Regions from separate parts of the Homo sapiens genome. Here all the other regions are linked to region 3. Evidence: promoter capture Hi-C in 16 types of primary human blood cells and fetal thymus (Javierre and others, 2016). All regions are on one chromosome and are shown on one strand. Each heading gives the region's core, a stretch centred on a gene start or on the middle of the fragment in contact. The rest is flanking DNA. Distances are from core to core; before and after follow the strand shown. Region 1 overlaps SLC1A3-AS1 (SLC1A3 antisense RNA 1). Region 2 overlaps SLC1A3-AS1 (SLC1A3 antisense RNA 1). Region 3 holds the start of RANBP3L (RAN binding protein 3 like).

Region 1 (3,385 bases), core at 720-3,219, 410 kb before region 3:
TGACACAAGGGTTTGTGTGCAAGTAGCTTATTTTCAGAAGTGATTTCAGGGAACTGGAGTAGGGGACTGGGAAGGGGGAAAGAAAGAAAGAAGGCAAATCAGTACCTACAAAGTTGTATGATCAAATTTGGTGGCAGTTGTGGGAAACTGGAGCCTGATCCTCCTGGGACTCTCTGACAGCCATGAAGAATGAATCTCATGATTGCCTACTCAAGGGACACGATGGGGACAGGCATCCACAAGCTCCCATCCTTGGCTGGTCAAGGATCAACTCCAGGTGTTAACTCCCTCACACTGCCAGATTCGCACAAGTGCTGGGTGATTCTCATAGATGTCCCAGGCCAGGCGTCTGAGAAGCCCCTGTCAATCATGCAGCAGAAGTGAGGTGTACTCAGGAAAACTGGAGTAAAATGTGAGGTCCAGAGAACATGAAATGGACATAAGCGACATCCAGCACAGGGCTCTGTCAGCAGAAAAGTGAGCAAGTCTGCTTCTCCTTTCAAACCTTTTACAAAAGTAGCCACTGGAATATTCTTCAATTGCTTCCATGTGGCTTTGGGAAGCCTCACTGTTCTCTTGGTTTTCTGAACTCTAATTGCATGTACAGGCTCAGTAACTTGGCACTTCGTGACATATCTCTTCCTTGTCCTTCAATGTGTTTCTGTGTTTTAATTGTGTCCCGCTTCCCCATGAAAGACATCAGTTTCTTTGGGTAGCTGGGGATGGAGTCTTTAAATTCCGTTTTATCCTATCAACCCCTAACAGTGCTCTGCAAAAACCTGTTGACTTGCGCTCACTTGGTAGATGATAAATCCTTTCTCTCTATGCACAATTATCTTTTCAAAGGCCTGTGGAGTCTTCCTACTCCCTAACTATATTGAGACCCTCCCAATTAATGGGGCTTGGAAAGCAGTATTTTTAATGAGAGGCAGGGAGCAGGGAGCACAATGCCAGTGCCTCAGGGTGTTGTAAGATTTTCAGCAGCGATTCATTCTGCACTCTTTGTATTTGGTTTCATTCCGATTGCTTCACAGCCAGTAGCACTCAGAAGGGACATATATTTAGACTAAACTCTAAGCCTCTTATTGAAACTTTCTGTATATAATGAAATACAAATGTGCTGGTCCTTTCTCTGCCTAACCTTTTCCCTTTCTACTGAAGTCCTTGCCAGCTGTAGATACTGTATGGTTATGAGTGGTGACTAGGGCCTGCAATGGGTCAGCAGGGGACTAGTATTCACCAAATTCTTTTATTATTTATTTATTTATTTTATTTTTTTGAGACAAGGTCTCACTCTGTCGTCCAGGCTGGAATGCAATGACATGATCTTGGCTCACTGCAACCTCCGCCTCCAGGATTCAAGCGATTCTTGTGCCTCAGCCTCCCAAGCAGCTGGGACTACAGGCGCCTGCCACCACGCCCAGCTAAATTTTTGTATTTTTAGTAGAGACGAGGTTTCACCGTGTTGGCTAGGCTGGTCTCGAATTCCTGACCTCAAGTGATCTGCCTGCCTTGGCCTCTCAAAGTGCTGGGATTACAGGCATGAGCCACCATGCCTGACCCCGAATTCTTTTAGATGACAAGGTATCCAGGTTACCTTCACTCTTTCTTACTGTGAGACTGGAGCCACTTATATGAGTTACTCCTGGCTGCCACATTCAGTGGGGCAGCTTGTGTACTGCACGACTCCCAGGAGGCATTCACATCACAGTCAGTATGAATGTGCTTCCTGGAGGAACGCAGTGAGTAAGTTGTGTAGCCACAAATAGTGACCCTATCTGAGGCCCCATCCCAGTTCTCCTGAATCAGAATCTCTAGTGGGAGCACCCAGGAATCTACATCTTCACAAATCTCACAGGTTCCTATTAACACTAAAGTTTGAAAATCACTGCTTAGGGATAGGTTTTGAGAAAAAGATACATCAGAAGGAAAGAAATGTGGGAAATTATCTCAGCATCTATGCTGTCCCTGGATCCTTTGCTTTCCAGGCTTAAATGTACACAGTGGGTTTCATGGATAACTCAGTGAATCATTGCCGTTCAGAGTATGATGGCCCTGCTAGTGATCTGGTCATCTTTTCATCTCTTTCCAAGCAGGCCTCTCTTGTTTTATTTTCTGAGAGCTTTTATATTCAAAAATTTTAAGAGAGAAGTTCTATCAGGGCACTCCATATTGAATGGTGGCCCCCATTGGGTAGCATCTGAAGCAGAGTTTTCTCCTTGGCAACTGGCCTTACTGATTTTCTGTTTACTTGTATGTGGCTCCCTTTGGCTTGGGTCCTCACCTTTAATTCAGTGAACATTAGCTATGGCATCTTAAGAAAGGTCTACCTGTGATCGCTTTTCTCTGAAGGGAGCTATGGGCATGGTCAGCACACACCATCGCAGACACCATGTCCCATAATAATAAGAGCTAGTATGTGTTGCACCAGGCATTTTTTCTAGTACCTCAAAAACAACTCTTTGTAATAGATGTTTTGTTATCCTCATTTTAGAGATTAAAAAATTGAGGCATGGCCGGGCGCGGTGGCTCATGCCTGTAATCCCAGCACTTTGCGAGGCTGAGATGGGCAGATCATGAGGTCAGGAGATCGAGACCATCCTGGCTAACATGGTGAAACCCCATCTCTACTAAAAATACAAAAAAATTAGCTGGGCGTGGTGGCGGGTGCCTGTAGTCCCAGCTACTCAGGAGGCTGAGGCAGGAGAATGGCGTGAACCTGGGAGGTGGAGGTTGCAGTGAGCTGAGATAGCGCCATTGCACTCCAGCCTGGGCGACAGAGCGAGACTCCGTCTCAAAAAAAAAAAAAAAAAAAAAAATTGAGGCATAGAGCTTGACCAATAGTTCAGAAATGGTCCCACAACTGGAACCCATATAAGCTCCAAGCTGCTGTTATTTATGACCACTGGGGTCATGGCAAAAGATCAGTGTGTGGGGTGTGTGCGTGGGGGTGGGGGCAAAAGATTGTGTGCGTATGCATGCATGTGTGTGCATGTGTGTATGTGTGCTGGGGTAGGACAGGGATAAGAGGGAGAGTGCAAGGCACAACTTAGGTCAGAAAGGCAAGAACATGCGGAAGCCTTCATTGGTGCATGTTGGGGGAAGGAGTTGGGAGACAATGACGGGTGCCACAAAGCCTCAAGACAGAGCTGAGATTGCCTTGAGGGCCAGACAGGATTCTAGCAAGAGATTCTGGGGAGTTGTTCTTACTCCTTTGCTGACTTCTTATAAAGGATTAAAAATGGCATCTGACTGTCCATGGTTCCATTGAAAAATAATGCCACATTAAACACCTTCCTATGGAGCCATAACCTCTGTTCTAGCCAATACCCTCCATGGCCTGGTTCTACTTGATGGACAAGCCCTGAGAATTTAGGGTTAAACA
Region 2 (3,878 bases), core at 97-2,596, 400 kb before region 3:
CTGATGGAAAGCTGTACAATTCATTTCCAAGCGTGTCGTGGCTCCCGTTTGTTCTCAAGTTCTCTTGAGCAAGTCATCATGCAGTCAGTCTGTGGACTCACGTGTAGACACCACCTGTTGTCTATAGGGTGGCAGCTCCATTAAAATAACATTCACATCTATAGGGGAACATGGGGGAGATGCCTAAGTGGTCTGTTATGGAATTGCCCTAAAATCCCTCCAAAGACATTGAGATGCTAACTAGAAAAAATTGCTTCTTTTTTCCCCCTCTTCATTTCTGTCAAATTTAATTTTCTTGTTTTCTTTTCCTGAAACTCTAGTAGCTGTCAAGAATGTATTGCTGGAAGCCAAATCTGTCATTTTGTCTTCGGCAGTTGAAGAACTTTCATTTTTCTTTCTAGGAGTAATGCATTTCTACTTAGAGAACAGCTAAGTGAAAATGTACTCCTGAAACAAGATTTTTTCTGCAGGCTTCCTTGAATTTGTCAAAAAGACAAAAATCTTACCAGCTTCACTTTGTAATAATGCCCCAAAGTTACTTGGAATCATCTTCCACCTACTTTTCTTGTCTCTATTATTTAATATGTGTAGTAGGGAAGAAGAAAATGAACACATTTACAATTTAAGGTTCTGCTTATACATGTATTGTCAAAGCTAATTGTTTTAAACAAGGTGTTTTATCTTTGATTAAAGTGATCAATGCCTATAAGTATAAAAGAAATGATAGTAGAGTTTCATGGTCTCTTTCATAACACAGTCCCATACTTAACACTTTGATGTGCTGACACTGATAATGAAGATACAAGGCCTGACTTAAGCAATAGTTAGCCTTCAAAATAGAAAGGTGAATGGTACATTCATTTCTGAAATTCCTGAGGTTTTTCCTTGCTCTACTCAGTTAGACAGAGAAGCATTAAAAAAAAAAAAAATCCCCATTGCAGAGAAGGAAACTGAGACCACCAGTCAATCAAAGGGAGGATTTTTACTTTCCCAAAACAACTGGGTATCAGCAATGTCAAATATTCAACATAACTTGTAAGCCCTCCTAGCACTACCTTCAAAGCACATAAGGCATCTCTTCAGGTCAGCCATTTGCTCCTGACACAGACCTGATGTCTACTGCTTGTGTAATTGATGTTAACAATGGATACTGAGAATTCCCCAAGAGAATTTTACTGTTTTCATTAAGTTGGTCAAGTAGAAAAGGTGAATACTATTGTCATCCCTGCCCTAACAATGTGATTAACATTTTATCTCTCTGAGTTCCTCTCCCCTCCTTACCCTTTATCCCTATCAGGGGCAGACTCATATCATGATAATGTCATTGCTACACAGCTCAAGTTCACTGTCACCCAAGAGGGTCTCCTGGAGCTTACACATGACAGGCAATGGTATTAGAGGTGAAATATACAGAAGCAATGGCATTAGAAATATACAGAATGTATAAATAAATATGCAGAAGCATTGGCATTAGAGATGAAATGTAAACTTTCCATAAACATTGTGAATGCCCGATTCAAGGAAAGTATGTTCTGTCCGAATCGGAAACACCTTTTAGCTACAGTGGTTCTGAGGAAGGTACCTCTGCGAGGATGTTAAAAAAATATGTAAAGGTGTATTTTTCATTGTCACAGCAACAAGGATGAAAAGGTGGAAAATGGGAAAGGGTGATGGGGATGGTAGAGGGGTGGGGACCTACCAGCATCTGGTGTCCAGGACTCAGGGATGTCAAATGCCTGCAATTCTCAGGGCATTCCCACCTTATGAATTGTCTCACCAAAAATGTCAGTAACACCTGTACTGGGAAAGAATGGAAGGGGAAGTGCGCAGCACTCAAATAGTTGCTAACAATGGTCATTTGAAATTCACCATTTTACATACATATATATATACAATTTAAATTTATATATATATATACTTAAATTTATTTTTTTACTCTGTGCCAGGCACTGGGGTACAATGGTTTTTTAAAAAACCCACTTTTTGCCCTAAAGAAGCATATAGTTGGTGGGAGACAGACCACATTCTGCCATGATATCAGTAACCTGGGAGGCCAAGGGGAACAAAGAGGGGTCTGGAAAGGCTTCCTGAAACACCTGCTGCCTCCACTGAAGTAGGAGTTGGAGTCAACAAGGAGGTGGGCCGAGTGGTTTGGGGTGCGAGGGGACAGTTGGGGTAGGGAGGTGATGTTTCCAGATGAGGACCAGCATGTGTAACTAAGGCCTGGAGTTATGAGAGCACAGTGCCATGGGGGGCAAGTTTGTTCTGTGGCTATTTCCTTCCAACAGAGGCGAGGACTGCAAATCAGGATGGAGAGGGAAGCAGGGGTTCAGTAATCAGAGACCCTGACACTCCGTGCAGGAATTTATACTTTATCCTGGAGCCATGAGAAGCCACTGCAGAGTTTAAATTAAGGGAATGACAAGAACCCATGTCAGGGATGGCACATTGAATTGAGAGCTCTCTTAGTGTCAGTATTATTGTCCCTTGCCTTTAGACACTGGGCAGGAAATCTGCTGAGAGTCACCTGAGAGTCATTGAGGCCTTTCTATTGACCTCTCCTTGAAGCTGCGCTACTGTGCAGCCACAAAGGCAGGACTGGCCTCACCAGCGTAGCCAGATCACTATCACTGTCATCAACCATCTGGCAAGGAAGTGCCTTCTACCAGCAGAGACTGCTCTGCCTTCGAGATCACAGGCTCATTGGGAGGCTGGAACTACATAACTCCAGCATCCCCTCCAGGAGAAGGATGGTTAAGGCCAAAGACTACAGAATCCAACTATCCAAGTTGGAATTCCAATTTCACCATTTGTTGACTTCGTGACCTCGGGCGGATCATTTAACCTCAGTTTTTTTCATCTGTAGAATGAAGATAATGATAATAATGATCTCATAGGTTTTTGTAAAGATTAGATGAGATAATATATATAAGAACCCAGCACTTAATAATCACTCAATAAGCATTAGCTATTATTACAACAGAAGGCAAAGAGTCAAATTCAGCTCAAAAGTTAAGAGTGTGCCTTCTGGAGCTACAGTGTTGGGTTTAAAAATTTAGTCCCAAGACTTGTGGCCTTGGGCAACCTGCTTAAACTCACCCCACCTCATTTTCTTCATCAGTGAAACAGAGGGAAGATGATAGTCTTGACTTCAGAGGGCTGACATAGCTCGATTTTAACAGTGTACATCTCAGAACAACACCTGGCTCATAGTAGGCACTCCATAAATATTAGCTATTATTTCAATGGAGTAAGCCAGACAAAAAATGATAGAAAGGAAGTGGGACTCAAGACTTTGAAGGAATAGAGCGTGCCTTAAATAAAATGACAGAAGGAAGAAGGGAATCAACATTTGGATGCTTAATAGGTATGTGGAACTTAACATCAAAGAAGTTGTTTTGAGAGTTAAATAAGATACCCCAATGCCCAATGTAGATTGTTTTCTTATCCCAATTTTGCAGCTGAGTCTTACAGAGTTTAGATAGTTTACCTGGGATCACGTGTTAGGCTGTGGACCCTGGCTGCATCCGACTCTAAATCCTTGATCTTTCTCTCCAGCTTGCTGAGTCCAGCTGCATGGAGAAGGTAGGTGGTCCAGGAGAGGAGGGGGACGAGGAATCAATTCTGCTGGAGTCGTCGGGGTTGGTGCCTGGTTCCCAGGTGCATACTTTTAAGTTCAAGATGCTGGGGTGCTGGCCTCTCAGTGACCACCAGATGTCAGTGCTAACAAGAGATTCCTCTACTTGGTTGTTTCCAGAGCTAGGTGCCAGGGCACGCTTATTCATTTGGCAAGCAGCACCAGCAGGTACTGTCTAAGAGAAGCTTAACTTGGTCTTGGTGCCCATCTTCACATTCATCAGTGTGGGGTGATTTTGGAA
Region 3 (3,459 bases), core at 83-2,582:
AAACACATAGTTTTAAGACACGATTGTCTATGAGTTGATAATATTGAAGCCAAGTGATGAGTATGCAGGGCTTATTGTGCTATTCTCTCCTATTCATGTATTTTTAAATTTTTTCATCATAAAACATTTTAAATGTATTTCTCAAAAGGGCTGGCTTACAGTTTTGTAGGTTATTTAACTTACCTGTATAATAATATGCTTATTAGTGAGGTACATAACTTGATAGAATAACAATAACTTTACATATTCAGGAAAAATCACCTTGTCTCTCCACCATGGCTTTTGTGGAAGATGAGATGAATAGCAGACATTTAAAGTAGAAACTATGACTCTCCAATAACAAGACTCTCTTTCAAAGTAGCACAACACTTCTGTCATCTGTTACACTGTGATTAGCCTAAAACTGCAGTAGATAGACTACTGAAACAATTAAAGCATTCAAGAATTATAAAAGATCAATCACCTACTTCATAAAAATTTTCATAAACCAGACTATACTTGGGGAATTGTTAATTGCCTCAAAGTAAAATGAGGGCAGCCACCCAGATCTGGTTAGGAGGTAAATTCATTACAGTGTCAAGTTTAACACCAATTTCCAAATGCACATAAGAAGCTGCAGAGTCCAGACTTCGAGGCTAAACAGCTCTGCCTTTCTCCTTAGTCCTGCCCACTACCTTCTTTCTGAATCTGCGAAGAGCTGTGACTCTTGAAGGGCAGGACCTACCAGCATTCATTATGACTTCAGTTATGGCAAGCTCTCAAGTTAAATTAATGGTGTTTGGGGTTTATGTTTCCAAACAGTAAGGAAATAGCCAACGAGTAAAACTGGAAATTACTTTCTCCTATGACCTAGAAGTAGCAATAAGAACTCTAAGTGGGAAACAGAAATAGGACTCTGGAAAGATAATGTTTTGTGTGTTTATTTTTCTTCCAGAACTCCAAATAGTTGCCTTGGCAGGAAGGCTGCCCTCTAACTGCTCCCTTCCGAAGACTAGGAGGTGTTTACAGAAATTGAAAGTTCCAGCAGTACATTTCCATGAGCTCATTACCAGTTCCATTTATACCTTTTAGATTTCACATGCACAAATGAATGTCCTTGCAGTATAAACTCCTGCTTTCAGCTTGCATTTTAATTACAAACAAAGTAGCAGAAATCAGGTACTCAGTTACTGTAACATAAGGGCAGGGCATCTTTAGAATCTGTGCTTTGTTCACTATTATTCAAAGCAGCTCCAATGCCCGTCTTGCCTGCCTCTTTATGCTAATCATCCTAGCCCACTTTGCTCCTCCTCCTTCCAGAGTCCCTTAAGAACTGTACACTTTCAGCTGTCACAGAGGGTAACTCAGATCAGGCTTAGAAATCACTTGACTTAACTCAGCAGCACTTTTTCTTTTCTTTGTGTCTGTATTATTTTAGCAGCCTTCTCTAAATACTGGAGGCATTGGATTTCATGTCGCCAAAAGGAATTTAAAAATGACAAAAGTGTAATCTGTTAGAAATAGTTAATTTGTAGAATTTTACTCTATAAGGAGGTTTAGTTTCAATTTGTTTTGAAATGAAGGAATTAAGTTGTGTTTTTAACCAAATGAATTGGCATCTTTATATTTAGGAGAAGTAACATTGGTGATTATTTATTTCAAGAATCATGACTGGAAAAAGCTTGGAAGTTTAGTAGAGGAGTATATGTTGTACATGCAAAGACAAGATCTGCATGAATCTATGTATTTCTGGGTGTCTGGTGAAGGCCACTTTAGGTGACTGGCCAGAGAAGGAGGTGCCCTAGTGATCCTTGAGTCACAGCCATACTGCTAGGACCATGACTACCATACCAAGAAAAGGCAGCAGCCACCTGCCTGGCAGTTTGCACACCTGTAAACTGAAGCTGCAGGAGGACCGGCGACAGCAAGGTGAGTCCGTCCAGCTCATGAGTTGCATATTCTGTGACCTTCTGTGCATTTGCATTCCAGGAAGAATGGTGGGCTGGTGAAGGACCCGGGGAAGCTCTGACATAATAGTGATGCATAAGGGTGGGTTAACTTGGATTCACTATTGATTTTTAGAGGACTATGGAAGACTGTCAAGAATGCATATTCCTTGGAGCTGTCATTCTGAAACTTACATGCTTAAACTTCTAGCCACTGTGTTTTTTAGAGTATGCTAGATTTTGTCTAATTCAAAACACCCATCTGAGCAAGGCTGAGTCAGCTACAAGGGGGATTTCAGCTGAGAGTAGCTTTAAGTTAGCCTGGAGCTTTCTCTACCATAGTACCACTGGTGGGACACTTTTTTCACTTTGTTTAAGCCTAAGTTTGTCTGGATCTCTGGCTCATTCATTGTGGGAAAAATAAATATATTCTTGACTCTTTCCTTTTTATGGTCCAGGGACATCTGGAGACAGTCAGGGAAAAGTGTCACATTTCACTTGCTGGGCACTCATTCAAACTAAACTATCTACCTCCCAGCCATTTTCACCATCAGTCTTTTTAAATTTTCAAATCCACTCTCCAGCCAGCTGAGTTAGTGTCAGATGGTTGACATGAATAGACAAGATGATCCCTCCAATCCACCCTGTCAGGGACAGCAAATGACACTTGTGGGAAAGGCTGGGTCTCTCATGGATGACATCATCACTCCACAGAGGTTAAGGATTCACCAGACACTTCTAACTTCTCCTCAATAACCTAGGATAGATCTTTTTATGTGTAGGTCTAGGCAATGAGCTCTTTAATTATTTTTCTGTAGACGCAGTTTTAGATTTCAGTGGTGTGGAGAGTGTTGGCTAAAGGGCCAAAACCTCCCATTTCCAAGATGGAATCTGTGTGCTAACAGTCACATGAATGTGTCAGGCCACCTCTCTGCATCGGTTCCTGGAGCTGTATAACATGACTTCATGCTCTACAAGGCTTAGCATAGTGTCGGCAGAAAATACTTCATGGTAAATGAAAACAATGTGAACTTTTAGACCATGCTTTACTACTAGTGCTCAAATAAATTTTGAACCAAGTACCCTAGAATGTAAAGTCCTGGAATGTGTCAGGGTTAAGGCATAGCACTGTAAAATGCTCTTGCTTCTCTGTTAGTAAACAATTCTAGTTTATCAGAGGTTTTTGTTTTCTGTTGACTTTGTATGAAATGTTAAAGTGACTTCCCCCCACTTCAATTGCTAATATGATAATTTTAATAGAAAATTTGGTGGGGGTGAGCCTAAAGAAGTCACCTGTAACCCCACCACCCAAAGATAATTGCTATTAACATTTTAATGTATAAACTTCTAGACTTTTCTTCTATGCACTTGTATGGATTATTCCTTTGCTTGCTTTTTAAACAATATAGACTTGTTCTGGATACTTTTGTAAACAGTGTTTTGTAAACTGCTTTTTAATTTAATGACAGAGGATGAACAAATTTCCAGGTCATTAAATATTCTTCTACAACCTTATTTTTAACAGTTGCACACT

The links. Contacts are between HindIII fragments. The CHiCAGO score rates a contact against its expected background, and 5 or more counts as called.
Region 1: a contact is called between a fragment that was not itself captured here and the fragment with the promoter of RANBP3L in region 3, in 3 of 17 cell types (M1 macrophages, monocytes and M0 macrophages). The highest score is 6.1, in M1 macrophages.
Region 2: a fragment that was not itself captured here is called in contact with the fragment with the promoter of RANBP3L in region 3 in 5 of 17 cell types (M1 macrophages, M0 macrophages, megakaryocytes and 2 more); the score reaches 9.2 in M1 macrophages.

Annotation. Positions count from the first base shown.
Region 1 is chr5:36,714,995-36,718,379 of GRCh38, reverse strand. All of the region lies in intron 1 of SLC1A3-AS1 (SLC1A3 antisense RNA 1), which reads left to right. Among named protein-coding and RNA genes, the nearest start is that of SLC1A3-AS1, 8.5 kb to the left of the region's middle. The HindIII fragment of the contact is 7,263 bases long and covers 1-3,385 here.
Region 2 is chr5:36,696,098-36,699,975 of GRCh38, reverse strand. The region is part of intron 1 of SLC1A3-AS1 (SLC1A3 antisense RNA 1); the gene reads left to right. Among named protein-coding and RNA genes, the nearest start is that of SLC1A3-AS1, 27 kb to the left of the region's middle. RefSeq lists a silencer at 3,555-3,849. The HindIII fragment of the contact is 4,957 bases long and covers 1-3,824 here.
Region 3 is chr5:36,299,775-36,303,233 of GRCh38, reverse strand. RANBP3L (RAN binding protein 3 like) reads left to right here and starts at 1,332. Exons shown (of 14, transcript NM_145000.5): 1 at 1,332-1,908. The coding sequence starts at 1,818. The region is part of intron 1 of LOC124900962 (a long non-coding RNA gene); the gene reads right to left. The HindIII fragment of the contact is 7,999 bases long and covers 1-1,662 here.